Regions from separate parts of the Homo sapiens genome. Here region 2 is linked to region 1. Evidence: promoter capture Hi-C in human tissues and cell types (Jung and others, 2019). All regions are on one chromosome and are shown on one strand. The core of a region is centred on a gene start or on the middle of the fragment in contact, and the rest is flanking DNA. Distances in the headings are between cores, read along the strand shown. Region 1 holds the start of MTHFSD (methenyltetrahydrofolate synthetase domain containing). Region 2 overlaps FBXO31 (F-box protein 31).

Region 1 (6,984 bases), core at 2,921-5,420:
CCATATCAACCATTACGTTAAATTAATGGGGCCATTTGAATGTTACTGATTTTATAGTTTTGTTTGTATTTAACTTATATGCTTATTTTGGTTTTATAGTTACATAAAAGCTATCTGCATTAAAATTTATACCAAGTTTTATGTTTATCATATTGAATTAGTTTATAATAAACTAATTTAAATCAACCCTGGGGGAGTTTTCTGGTTTTCCTTGAAAAGGGGCCTGTATGTTTTCAGTTGAGGAACAAGTGCTCTAACCGATACCTTTTGAGGGTACATCAGACTTCTTACTCGTGATTTATCATGTTTCAAAGCATCATAATACCACAACTGTGGCAAAAAGAACTAAATCTTCCTTGTAATCTTCCTCCTCTGATGAAGCACATCAAAACTGAGAATGCTTCAACGCCATAGTTTTTGTGTTTGTTTGGTTAGGAAGTTAAAAAATAAAAATTACAAAAGCATGCCTGAATTTAAAAAGTTCAGCAGTGTTGAGAAGAAACCTTTCCAGTTCTTAACCGTGGTCTTTATAGTATCAGAACATGACAAGTGACCGTCTGTCATCCAGAAGCAAATGATTCTGTGTTCAGCAAGCTTGTTAGCATGCTCATTTCAAATGGCAAAGTGGTGTCATCTATTTCAGCTCCAGCTCCTCAATTCTGGAACACCACAGGTTCTGCCTGGGTTCCCTCTCCTGTGCCAACTGGGCCTGGAAGCCATTGTTTTGAACATCCTTTATCTCTGAATTTAGAAGCATTCGGGACTCCTGATTGACTGAATTGCTAAACAGCTGAAGGGCTTCTGAACTATTCTTGGAAAAATCACCACCAAGGGCACTTTCTGTATTGGAGGGAATCGGAAGCACCGACTTTCTAAATGCAAGACAGACGTGTGCACTGACCAGCTACCTGGAAAAGGTGTCCCCCTTGGCGGCCAGGTCTCGGCTCGGCTCAGGGAAGTGGAATTACCTGCAGCACCAGCAGCCGAACGCCTTCCAGTGGTTTATCAGGGTCCACTTTAACTTCCTGTGTTCTGGCAAAAACGTCTAGGTCTTTGATGTTTTGGCAAGCCAGATAAGACCCCTAGTTAGGCAAATAGACAGAGTTGCACTTACTTCAAGGACGAAGAAGCGAGCACTTTTCTGGGGGGCATCAGGATTTACTTTAATGGTCCTGGCCGTTTTGAACGCCTGCAAGCGTGGGAGTTGCTCGGCAGCATGAGAAGCGCCCTGTTTCCAATGCAATCGCACGTTACTGAAAGGACAGCACGCTCTCAGGCCAACTGCAGCCCAAGCAGCTCGGCCCAGAATCTCACCCAGACAGGCACTAACAGTCACCCAAAGAAACATCTAAGGAAGCAGTCTAAGTAAGGAAAGGGATTTGAGAAAAGTAGCCTAATCCCACTTGAGCTTTAACTGAAATGAAACATGCATTCCAAAAAGAATACAAATCCCAAGGGCAAAATTTGATGATTTTTCACAAAATGAAGGCTGCTGTGTAACCACCACCAAAATCAAGCAGTAGCATGACCTGGAAGCCCCCACCTCTCTCCTGTTTGATTCGTTTTTTAAAGATTTCTACATGATTCTCTACATCCTTCATCTTTACCTCTGTTAAGATACATTTCTCTCTCTGGGGTCAGAAGCATTAAAACAAAACACAGTAACAACAAAAAACCATCAAAAGATCAGTTTTTCAAAGGGACAGGACAGTCTTGGAACCACCTCAGCTGAGGACCAGGGAAGGTGGAGCTTGTTGTGGAGAAGCCAGGCTTGGGGAGAGGCAGTCCTGACAAAATGGGGTGAAGCAAGCCAACAGCTAAGTCCTTCAGGGCAGAGAGCATTTTTGAAAAGCGCTTTCTTTTGCTCTTGGAAAATAGGCATGTCAAAGATGATGAACTGCTGCATTGCCTCTTCCGAGTAACCTTTTTTTTTTCTGTCAACACTGTTAGGAACAGCCATCTTTGATTGTCTTACATTTTGATCAGCTGGGAAACTGAGGCCCAGCATCCTTAGGCTGGCAAGGCATTCATTTCTTTCCAAAGGCCTAGAGCCTGAACTTCCAGTTCAGTACCCCTTCATTCCCTAACGCTCTTAGCAGGGTCAATTTTGTGAAAAGCCATTACGACAATAACATGCTTCCGGCCAGGATAAATATTTTACTTTGTATCAAACAGAAAACAGCAACTAGCACCACCTTGAAAGGTGACAGCGTGCTGGCAGCCCTCGGTCCCTCTCGGCGCCTCCTCGGCCTTGGCGCCTACTCTGGCCGTGCTTGAGGAGCCCTTCATCCCGCAGCTGCACTGTGGGAGCCCCTTTCTGGACTGGCCCAGGCCGGCTCCCTCAGCTTGCTGGGCGGTGTGGAGGGAGAGGCGCGGGCGGGAACTGCTGCTGTGCATGGTGCTTGTGGGCCAGCGCGAGTTCCATGTAGGCGTGGGGAGCCCCGCACTCACAGCGGCTGGCCCTGGGCAGTGAGGGGCTTAGCACCTGGGCCACCAGCTGCTGTGCTCTATTTCTCGCCGGGCCTTAGCTGCCTCCCCAAGACCTGCAGCCTGCCATGCCTGAGCCTCCCCACCCCCACCGGCGGGCTCCTGTGCAGCTAGAGCCTCCCCGAGGAGCGACGCTCCTGCTCCACGGTGCCTGGTGCCATCCACTGCCCAACGGCTGAGGAGTGCGGGTGCACTGCACGGGACTGGCAGGCAGCTCCACCTGCAGCCCCAGTGCGGGATCTGCTGGGTGAAGTCAGCTGGGCTCCTGAGGCTGGTGGGGACTTGGAGAATCTTTATGTCTAGCTAAGGGATTGTAAACACACCAATCAGCACCCTGTGTCTAGCTCAGAGTTTGTGAATGCACCAATGGGCACTCTGTATGTAGCTAATCTAGTGGGGAGGTGGAGAACTTTTGTGTCTAGCTCAGGGATTGTAAACGCACCAATCAGCATCCTGTCAAAACGGACCAATCGGCTCTCTGTAAAATGGACCAATCAGCAGGATGTGGGTGGGGCCAGATAAGAGATTAAAAGCAGGCTGCCTGAACCAGCAGCAACAACCCTCTCCAATCCCCTTCCACATTGTGGAAGGTTTGTTCTTTGCAATAAATCTTGCTGCTGCTCATTCTTTGAGTCCACCCTGCCTTTGTGAGCTGCAACACTCTCTGCTAAGGTCTGCAGCTTCACTCCTGAAGCCAGCAAAGACCGTGAACCCACCAGAAGGAAGAAACTCTGAACACATCCAAACATCAGAAGGAACAAACTCCAGACACGCTGCCTTTAAAAACTGTAACACTCACTGCGAGGCTTCATTCTTGAAGTCAGTGAGACCAAGAACCCACCAATTCTGGACACAACCTCACCTAGAGACAACCAAACCACCCTGCACAGAGACGCAAGAGGCCCCAGGTGAAGAGTAAATGACGTCTCTAAATGCTAAGGACGCCCTGGCCAAATGGCTTTGATTTCACACCACTGCTCACTGCTCGCCACATTCTCATCCACCATGACGCAGTAAGAGAATTTTATTACTAGTGTTATTCATTTAAGAATATTTTGTTTTCCTTTTCTGGACTCCAGAAATATGTCAGTACCTTAAAGTTGGGTATCCTGTGATGAACAGGTCGGGGAAAGTCAGCTAAATTTTGTGATTCCATGTAGCCCCAAATTTGTTCACGTATGTCCTGTTTGGAGACACCTACTGCAACAAAAGATTCCCACTTAATAACATACAAAGGAATTCCAGAGCCCATGCTGAAACCGCTTAACAGTAGTTAAGCGACCCCCGCGTGTAGGTCAAACCGGCTTCCGATCCTGTTCCTGAGCCTCAGTTTCCCCGACCTCAAGGGGCCCACGGGCTCCCCCACGTGCACGGCAGGTGTCCCTCCCGCCTCGTCTTCTCGTTATCTTTATTTTTCCTGACATCTTTCTCGGGATTCCGGGCGAGAGAGCCGCTGGTTCGACCCGAACCCAGCACAGACCCCCTCTGACCTCCTCGGCCGCTTCCGGTGATTCTGCCCCATCCTCTGCCAGCCCCGGTGGCCCCGCCTCGACCCTCACCGGTCCCGGCTGTCCCTCCCCATTCCCAGCCGCCCCGGAGCCCCGCCAGGCCCCCCACCTGCCCTCGGCTCCATGGTGATGCAGTCGCTGTGCGACGCTTCCCGGCGCAGGTTCTGGCGCGTAGTGACGTCACCCGCTCCGCGCCTGCGCGATGGTAGGAGGGGCGGAGGCTGAGCGGGCGAGGCCCAGGCGCGCATGCTCGGGCGGGTAAAATCCGCGCCGGGGACAGTCAGGGATGCTCCCAGGCCCTTCGCTCTTGCTTTCAGCTAGTCATTGTCGAGCGCCGCCCGTGACAGGCGTTTTGCCAAGCCCTGGAGTTACTGAAGTGAACAAGTCCCTGGTCTCTCGGGACCCATTGCCGGTTGAAACACATCCCGCCTCCTCTTCCAGTCCTAGAGGCCGCCTCCTCCGGAAAGCCGGCCTTGATTGCTCCTCATGTAGGACGCGGTTCCCTCCTCTGAGATCCTGCAGACTCTCAGGTGCTCACACGTGGGTGTGCAGCGGATTCAGCCGGCAGCTCTTTAAAGCGGCAGGCAGATGGAAATTCGAGGCCAGCCCAGCCCCGGCGACTGCGCTGCGGACGGCCAGAGGCCATCCTTTGAGAAACACCCGTGGATTCTTACCCTGACCTCTGCATACCCTGAGAAAGAACGAACGTGGCAGCCTGCGTCTGCTTGTCTATGTCTTTCATGTTTGCTAACCTAAGGGTCGAGAAGCGGCTCGAGGAGACCAGGCTGCACAGACCGTCACGTCCATTCCCTCTCTGGCCCCAGCCCCGCGGGAAGAAAACGAGGGCGTTCAGCCTGGCAGTTCATTCACTTATTAGGAAGAAGACATCCCACACCCCCACCCAGCACACACACAGATGTCAGGGACCAGCCACTAGGAACCACTCCCTGAGCGAATGAAGGCATCCCCGTAGCCACGTGCCTGGTACATCACAAGCACTCAAAACGTGGCTGCCACCTTTCGAAATTGCATGCCCAAAACTTTATGAGATCCTCACAACACACTTGGGAAACAGACAAAAGAGTTTGAATGCCCGCCTACTTAACAGATACAGAAAATGGTGTTCCGTGTACAAGCGACTTACTCATGTCTGCTGGTAACTCATAATGTGCCGTTTGACCTCCTTAGGACATAATTAATAATGGTAATTAACAGTGCTACGATATGCCAGGCATTGAGCTTAGCGCCTTAAAAGTCATAGCTAACTATGTTTCACAGCAAACCCTCAGAGGCAAATGTGACCCGCCTCCTACGCAGGAGGCAACAGAGGCTCAGACATGTTAAAGAAGCTTGGCCTGAGTCTCCCAGCAGAGAAAGGGCAGAGCGTGTAGCCCTGACAACGTGCTTAATTGCAACTCCTGTGGGTCCCATCACAACTCTCTCTTCCTATGTGGTGTCCGCAACATTAATACATAGAGACACCGAGGAGCCTCAGTTCTGCTTGTGGGCGGGCCTGTCTTTCACCAGGCTGGCAAAAGCAGTGCAAACATCATTTTGGAGGTGATAAAATAAAATCTCTCACAGAGGTTGGATGTCCTTTCCGCCTTTCATGGAAGCACAGTAGATCTGCAGAGTGTTTTATGCAAGTAGACTTGGTGCCAGTAGTGGAAGTGTGTGCAGGATTCTGTTACCCAGCTGTGCTCAAAACAGAGCCCAAGTCTCTCCGATGGTCAGCCTGGCACGGCCCCCAGATGGTAACGAGACGCCAGGGACAATCTGCCAGTGGCAATTTTAGAAAGCAGGTGGTGCTAGGAAGGGCATTCTCTTCAGTTCCATGTTTTCAAGTTAGAAGTGCCTCAGAGCATTTACCCCCAGCTCCTTGAGGGGGTGAGGCAGAGGATCACTTGAGCCCAGGAGTTTGAGGCTGCAGTGAACTATAATGGCACCACTGTACTCCACTTGGGCGACACAGCCAGAACTCCTCTTTGAAAAACATAATAATAAATAAAAATAATAAATAGTAGTAATAAGAGACCCCTTAGAAAAAATCAACTGGCTCTTTTATGAAAGGAAGATGCTTTCAGAATGAATAGCTAATGCATGTGGGGTTTAATACCTAGGTGATGGGTTGACAGGAGCAGCAAACCACCATGGCACACATTTACTACCTATGTAACAAACCTGCACATCCTGCACATGTATCCTGGAACTTAAAATAAAATTTTAAAAAAAGAAGATGCTATTGAACCTTAACTCAAATACTTAAAACTCAATCATATGTGTAAATTTGCATTTGGGCACTTCAGGATTTTTTTTTGTTTTGGTAGATTTTATCATTTAGAAAAGTTTTGGTTTGGCCAAGAGTGGTGGTTCACACCTGTAATCCCAGCACTTTGGGAGGCTGAGGTGGGCAGATCAATTGAGGTCAGGAGTTTGTGACCAGCCTGGACAACATGGTGAAATCCCATCTCTACTAAAAATACAAAAAATTAGCTGGGGGTGGTGGCTCGCGCCTGTAATCCCAGCTACTCAGGAGGCTGAGGCAGGAGAATCACTTGAACCCAAGAGGCAGAGGTTACAGTGAGCCAAGATTACGCCACTGCACTCCAACCTGAGCGACAGAGCGAGACTGTTTCAAAGTAAAGAAAAAAGAAAAGTTTTACTTCACAGCAAAATTGAGCAGAAAGTACAGAGAGTTCCCATATACAACCCCTGCGGCTGCATTTATACACAGCCTCCCCCACTATCAACATCCTGCTGTGGAATGGTACATTTGTTACAATGAACTTACACTGATACATTGTTATCATCCAACAGCCATGGTTTACATTAGAGCTCAGGCTTTCTGTATGTTCTGGGGTTTTGACAAATGCATAATGGCATGTGCCCATCCCTGGAGTATCAGGCAGAATATTTTTACTGCCCTACAGATCCTGTGTGCTCTGCCTCTTCCTCCCTCCCTGCCTGCCTGCTAACCCCTGGCAGTTAC
Region 2 (6,803 bases), core at 1,783-4,282, 800 kb after region 1:
GGCTTTCTTTTTTCACACACAAGAACTTTTTCTTCCTGATATTCTAGTAGGTCATCCACTTAAATTTGTCCAAAGAGAAATGCAACCAATGTTTAACTGCTGTTTTTCATTTTATTTTCTAAATTTTTCAAGTTTTCTACAATGACTTTGTGTTTTTATAACGACACTCAAACTTCAGCATGAACAACAGTATGTCAATCAAAACCCACATATGATAAAGCCGCCAGCTCGAAGCAACTGGCGCTACATCACAATAGGAGGCTGCGCAGCCTGGATGCTCGAGAGGCCAGCCCGGCAGCGTGGGGAGGAGGTCTCTTCCTCGTGAGCTACATGAAGCTTCCCTCCACCTGCCTCGGGGACAAAAGGAATGTCCCCTGCCCCCAGTGCAACTCTGAAGACTCGCTAGGCCCCAGCTGCGCGGCCTCCCCAGAGGCTGGTCAGAATTCCATCCCAGGTCCACAGTGCACATTCCAGAGAAATAGTGAGACAGACATGCGACATGAGGAGCCTCTCAGTGCTTGTCCCCTTGTATTGAAAAGCCCTTGCCCAATCACCTGAGGTCAGGAGTTCAAAACCAGCCTGGCCAACATGGTGAAACCCTGTCTCTACTAAAAATACAAAAATTAGCCGGGCGTGGTGGCAGGCGCCTGGAGTCCCAGCTACTTGGGACGCTGAGGCACGAGAACTGCTTGAACCCGGGAGGCAGAGGCTGTAGTGAGCTGAGATCACACCACTGCACTCCAGCCTGGGTGACAGAGTGAGACTCCATCTCAAAAAAAAAAAAAAAGAAAAGAAAGAAAGAAAAGAAAAGCCAGCACATTCCTGTCAGCACCAAGGAGAGACTGTTGTCAACGCTCACTAAGTCGACTGTTCCCTCCCACAGCTCTCCTCACTGACTGCTCAGAGGAAGGGCTGGTCAGTCTAGAACGGCACAAATGTCTTCAAACGTTGCCCACCCCTCCTTTTCCACCTCGGCCCCTTCCAGCCCCGTGTTCCCCGTCCACAGACTCCTGAGAGGTCCACAGACTCCTGAGAGGTCCCCTGGCTCTGGCCTCCACTCAGCTAGACAGTTCACACCTCAACAAGGCAGTGCTGTTAGCAGGCGTGTAAAGGGTTCAGACACCACCCTGAAGCGTGCTAACCAAATCCAGGCACCTCCGCACCAACTACACGAAGGTCCCCTCAGTAAAGCGGGACCCAGTTCCCCAGCTGCAGTGATCTGCTGAGATCTGGCAGGACATTAGGTGAAATTACTCTTTCTGCTTTCAGTTGGTGTTTTTAGAAATCGGGCATTTATGAAACTTAAGATGTAGGTCTGCTCCCAACAGACCATGCTGACCCATGGGCCATCGGGGTGGACTGAAAGCAGTAGTAGGGGCTCCACGAGCCTCTAGAAACTGCAACACAGCTTTTAGGGCAGGTAGGTGTTTTCAATCTCTTTCTGGACAGCTGAAATTCATTGTCTCCATCACCACTCAACCACTCTGAGCTAATAAAAAGTGGAAACAGGCCAGGTGCAATGGCTACACCTGCAATCCCAACACTTTGAGAGGCCAAGGTGGGAGGAATGAATGAGCCCAAGAGTACAAGACCAGCCTGGGCAACATAGTGAGACCCGTCACTACAAAAAACTGAAAAATTAACCAGGCATGGTGGCACACGCCTCTAGTCCCAGCTACTAGGGAGGCTGAGGCAGGAGGATCGCTTCAGCCCAGGAGTTCAAGGATACAATGAGCTGTAATTGTGCCACTGCACTCCAACCTGGGCAACAAGACAGACCCTGTCTCAAAAAAAAAAAGTGGAGACAGCATTAAATTCCTATAACTGTGGCTTAGAAAAATTTCCAGAGCTCCATCAAAAGAATTCGGTTCTTTTTTTTTTTTTTTTTTTGAGACAGAGTCTCGCTCTTGTCTCCCAGGCTGGAGTGCAATGGCGTGATCTCGGCTCACTGCAACCTTCACCTCCCGGGTTCAAGCGATTCCCCCACCTCAGCCTCTGGGTACCTGGGATTACAAGCACACGCCACCACACCCAGCTAATTTTTGTACTTTTAGTAGAGATGAGTTTCACCATGTTGGCCAGACAGGTCTCGAACTCCTGACCTCAGATGATCCACCTGCCTCGGCCTCCCAAAGCACTGGGATTACAGGCATTAGCCACCATGTCTGGCCAAAAAGAAGAATTAAGTTCTAAAGAGTCAACTGTTAGCCAGGCACGGTACCTCATGCCTGTAATCCCAGAACTCTGGGAGGCCGAGATGGGCAGATCACTTGAGACCAGCCTGGCCAACATGATGAAACCCCATCTCTACTAAAAATACAAAAAAATTTGCTGGGCATGGTGGTGTATGCCTGTAATCCTAGCTACCTGGGAGGCTGAGGTGGCAGTATTACTTGAACCGAGGAGGCAGAGGTTGTGACACTGCACTCCAGCTTGGGTGACAGAGTGAGACTCTGCCTCAAAAAAAAAAAAGGAGTCAACTGTTGCTACCTGCCTTTGTCTATTGAGGGTATATGCATATGTGATTTTTAATTCACATAGGCTATTAAAATGTGATTAAAACTAATAAAGGTCAGAAGTCAAATATTCATATTTCACTTTAGAATAAAATTTTAAAGCTTCTACTCTGTTCGTTCCTCTCTGTGTCTGCAGTAGCTCCTCAATAAACGATACATGTGAAAATGTGCATTAAAGTGATCTCGACTGGTAGTACCCAGAAACCACTGCAGAAAGGTAAGCCAAATGCAGCCTGGGTCCAACACACAGGTGTGATCTCTGTCACAGCTGAAGCAGAGCCACGCTGCAGCAAGTGAACGTGAAAGGATGACAAAAAGCCACGAGGTCCGCTTGCTCCAGGACCAAAGCTGTCCCATGTGTGAATCAGAGGGCCCTCCCCATGCAGTTCTTGGCCGTGCTGGCTGCCGCAGAAGCCAAAGCTCGCAGGAGGTACATACGGCAGGTGTAAACGTCTCTGTACGCCATGTGCTCATAATCAGGGAGAATTTTCACAAAACGTCCCGACTTCACGCGAGGGTTTATACCTGAACAGACACAGCAGGGAAAGGGCTAAGGATGGCTCCCTTTACAGGACTGTGCAAACAGCGTGAATACGACCCAATGCCTGCCCCTCACCAGTGTGATACAATCCCCTCGTGTTTATGCAGCCACCCAGGACACAGAGAGGTGGCTCTGAGAAACCTGCTGGAGAGAACAACACTGTGACACGTTTTCCTTCCATCAGTGGTGCCACCAGAAACTCACGGTGGCAGCAAGCTTGGAAATCCTTTCCATATTTGATCACACTCCTCCCGGGGCCAGCACACTCCCGGCAGGCCCCAGGCCACAGCTCACTGGGGCTCAGGAGGTGGGAGGGCAGGTGTCCTGGCAGGTGAGCATCTGGGATGACCGTCTAGAGAACACTTACCCCGGCTAACATACTCACTTTGCCCAGCACCCACCTGGCGTTTCCCAGCCTGCTAACTCAGGCCAGCCTCGTCACAGGTCATCCAAGGTTGCCCAACTACACCACCCGTTTCTGGAGCTAAGGCTGATTTTCTTCCACCACCTGTTCCCAAAGCTAAGTAATTTTCTCCTGGATAAGCCTTAAAGCAAATTCACAGAAACACAGTTGCTGCGCTGTGAAAATGAACACTGACATTTGCTTTGGCCACTGCAGACTAACACTGCGGGGAATAAACACTGTCGGAAACAGATCATGTGAATTCTCCGCATTTTGCAAACACTTTCAAGGGGTCAAGAATCAGCAGTGAAAAGAAATCTCCCAATGCCCTGTCCTCCTATCCCCTCTTCTGTGCCCACCCCCTGCCCTACCCTCGGCCACACTGCCTCCTGCCTGCCTATGCCCGGATGGCCTCTCCCACAGGACAGGAGGACTCAGTGCTCAGGCAACACCTCCGACCCCCACAGCTGGAAGGAGCATCCATGTGTACACTCCTATGGCTGTTACAGGAAACCCTAACACCTGGGCAGGCCAAACACCTGTGTCCCTACCGGGACATGACTTTTGGTGCTGACAACTCTTAGAGAGAAATATGTCTTCATGTCACTTTGAGATGATATGACCCAAATGGCCTAAGAAACTCAAAGAGCAACTGCCTTGCAGAAATGAAAAAGAAAAAAGAAAAGAAGCTCAAAGAATGGTCAGAAGATGAAAACGTGGGGTATGAGACACTCACAGAAACCCTCTGACCATCCAAAAAAGCCAAGAGCTTCGTCCAGTGAGCAAGAAATGGGAAAGTCCCTGGCACTGAAGAAACACCCGCGGGAAGACAGCCTGGGGCCAAGGAGCCTCTGCCTGATCGGTGAGTGTCACAGTTGACTCTGGAAAGCGGGTGAACCAGAGAAACATGAAACGGGGCTGGGGGGCTCAGCCTGCTCACAGAATGCTAAAGGGAAGGAGAACTCTAGCAGGGGGGCTGTTCTCCGTACCTGGGGCTTGGACAGAAGGCACCACAGCTTCATTTCCCAATGACCACAGGCAGTCCCATCCTGAAGGCTGGAGGCCCAGAAGCCAGAGAAACAGGCAGCCTCCAGGAACACCCAAGTCGCTCTGGTGCAGCCTACATTTCTCAGCTCTAAAGGGCCTCGATGCCTGGTAAAAGACACTAGTATCTACGATGCCCAGAATGGGAGAATACGGTGTCCCCTCCCTAATTTTAGTGCTGTTACTACCAGTGCTCTATTCAAAATGTGACTGTAAGATGGTGTCTGAGAAAACAAAAGTGTGGACTAAATCACTTTGATTATTTGTCATTGATGTGCACTGTCTGCTTCTGGTACAAAGTTAATCATGGATGGTAACAAATAGATTCACTCACGCTTCGCATAGACGTCCCGACAAGACACGCCTGTGATCTCCAGCTTCCGCAAGTTTTCGCAAACACCATACTCTGTAACAAGAAACATTTGCAGAAATTTAAGATCAACAACTCATAACGCGACAGACGTGGGCAGGCTGCTGATGGCTGGCAGGGGAGGTGCACACCTAGCCTCAGCCCCATCTCCAGAGTGCATCTGTCACTGTGGAGATTTCACTGACTTCTCCACATTCAGTAAACACCCTTGTTCACCGATGAAGACATTATTCTATTTTAGTCAATGTCACCCTTTACAAAATAATAATCTGCAATGTCTATTCTAATAAGCTCTAGAAGCCTAACCACACAAACCAATATCAGACAATCCCTAGTTTATGAACAAGGTGAGGCAGAATTCAGTTGTCTGGACACAGTGCCATGTTTCCATGGAAACAAATTCACCACTGGTGTTAGGGTTCAGACAGTGCCAGAGGCCAGTCCACCCCATGTACTTCCCTGTGCTGCCTGTGTGTTCAACTCAGCCCAAGGCCAAGAGGGGACCGTGCAAGACATGGGGGAAGGGGTGAACATTGTCCCTTCTCCACTGGCTAGGCTTGGCCAGGGCCCAGTGCAGGGCCCTGGACACCTCCCGCAACCCCTGTCCTCACACCCTCACCTGCTGACAGCACCTTCCTCTTTGTCCCCTACTCCCACCCCACCACAGCTGCACTTTTCACAATCACCAACACCCAGCACGTCCCAAGCAAAATCCCAGGTCCTCCGGCTTGGGTCTCCGCTAGCCTTTGAAAGGAAAGACCGCCAGGGACTAATCCACACAACTACAGAACTGCACATGGGCCAAGAGCTGCTACTGGCAACACCTGCATTGAGCTTTCCACGTGCTGTGTACCATGCCAAGCCATGCTGGGCATCACCTCACTGCATCCTACAGCAGTCCCATAAGAGAGTCACCACTGTCATCTCCATTTTAACAGAGAAAACAAGTGCAGAGAGGTGACATGACTCCACAAAGGACCTGGAGCTTATGGTCAGCTGGGACCAAGAATTGAAGCCTAGATCAAAAAGCTTCCTTCGCAGTGAGAATGTGGCAGGGGCACAACACAGGAGACGGGACGAGGTGGCTGGGTCTCCACATGGACCACTGCAGCTCACACTGACTGTGTTATGCCCTGTGCAGGCGTGAGAGCCTGACAGTGACCTTGAAGGTCAGGACCCTCCCTGTGGCAGCGAGGGAAACCGAGGCCCAGTGAAGTTGATGGCCATCAGAGCTCATTCAGCAGTCACAATACAGGAACGTCGATACGATGCGGTCAGGCTAGCCAGGTAGCTCCAAAGTGCTGCCCCTCATCACATGCCTTTTGATAAGCCCTACTCGCGCAGAGGCCTCATCCCTTCTTTTCAATAGCATGGATGCTATTACCCCAAATGCTTCTCTAACTGGAAGCACTGACCGTACTCAAAGTAAAGCTCGAGAAGCAGACAGGGTGGAGACAGCAGTCAAGGCGAGGTGGCTGCTACTCAGCAAACCTCTTTCCAGCGGGACCGTTCCAGGCTTGTGCCTTGACAGCATGTCCCCTGCCTCCACTTCTGAACCTCAAGGCTCCTAGAAGGCCTGTGTCTCCTCTCAGTTGTGGTCTACGGGTCCCCCTTAGCGGGAGGACCTGGGAAACTACATCCTAAATCCAGTAGGCTCCAGTGAGGAGTGCCCAGAGTGGGTCCCCTAATAAATACACCCAGCGAGGAGACGCATTTTAGTTCTTTGGAGAAGAAAACAGGAATGAGAAGAGTGAGTCACTTGAAGATCTCCCACAGAGCCCAGGAAGCTGCTGATTCCAGATCTAGGCCGGGGCTGCCCTGATGGAAACACAACGTGAGCCACAAATAGCATTCACATTTTCTAGTAGCCACATCAAAAAGGGTACAATTAAACAGGTAAAATTCATGGTAATATTTTATTTAACTCAG

What was found. Contacts are between HindIII fragments. The study calls those that stand out against the background at their distance.
Region 2: a contact is called between a fragment that was not itself captured here and the fragment with the promoter of MTHFSD in region 1, in 2 of the 25 tissues and cell types used here (IMR-90 fibroblasts and dorsolateral prefrontal cortex).

Annotation. Positions count from the first base shown.
Region 1 is chr16:86,551,065-86,558,048 of GRCh38, forward strand. MTHFSD (methenyltetrahydrofolate synthetase domain containing) reads right to left here and starts at 4,171. Exons shown (of 8, transcript NM_001159377.2): 1 at 4,105-4,171; 2 at 3,581-3,687; 3 at 969-1,082. The coding sequence starts at 4,120. It overlaps FLJ30679 (a long non-coding RNA gene), which reads left to right and starts at 4,256. Exons shown (of 1, transcript NR_026674.1): 1 at 4,256-6,235. RefSeq lists enhancers at 1,778-2,442, 2,443-3,105, 4,074-4,123, 4,164-4,453 and a silencer at 4,028-4,241. The HindIII fragment of the contact is 6,717 bases long and covers 1-6,314 here.
Region 2 is chr16:87,355,457-87,362,259 of GRCh38, forward strand. It overlaps FBXO31 (F-box protein 31), which reads right to left. Exons shown (of 9, transcript NM_024735.5): 2 at 4,839-4,910. Among named protein-coding and RNA genes, the nearest start is that of FBXO31, 25 kb to the right of the region's middle. The HindIII fragment of the contact is 3,111 bases long and covers 1,478-4,588 here.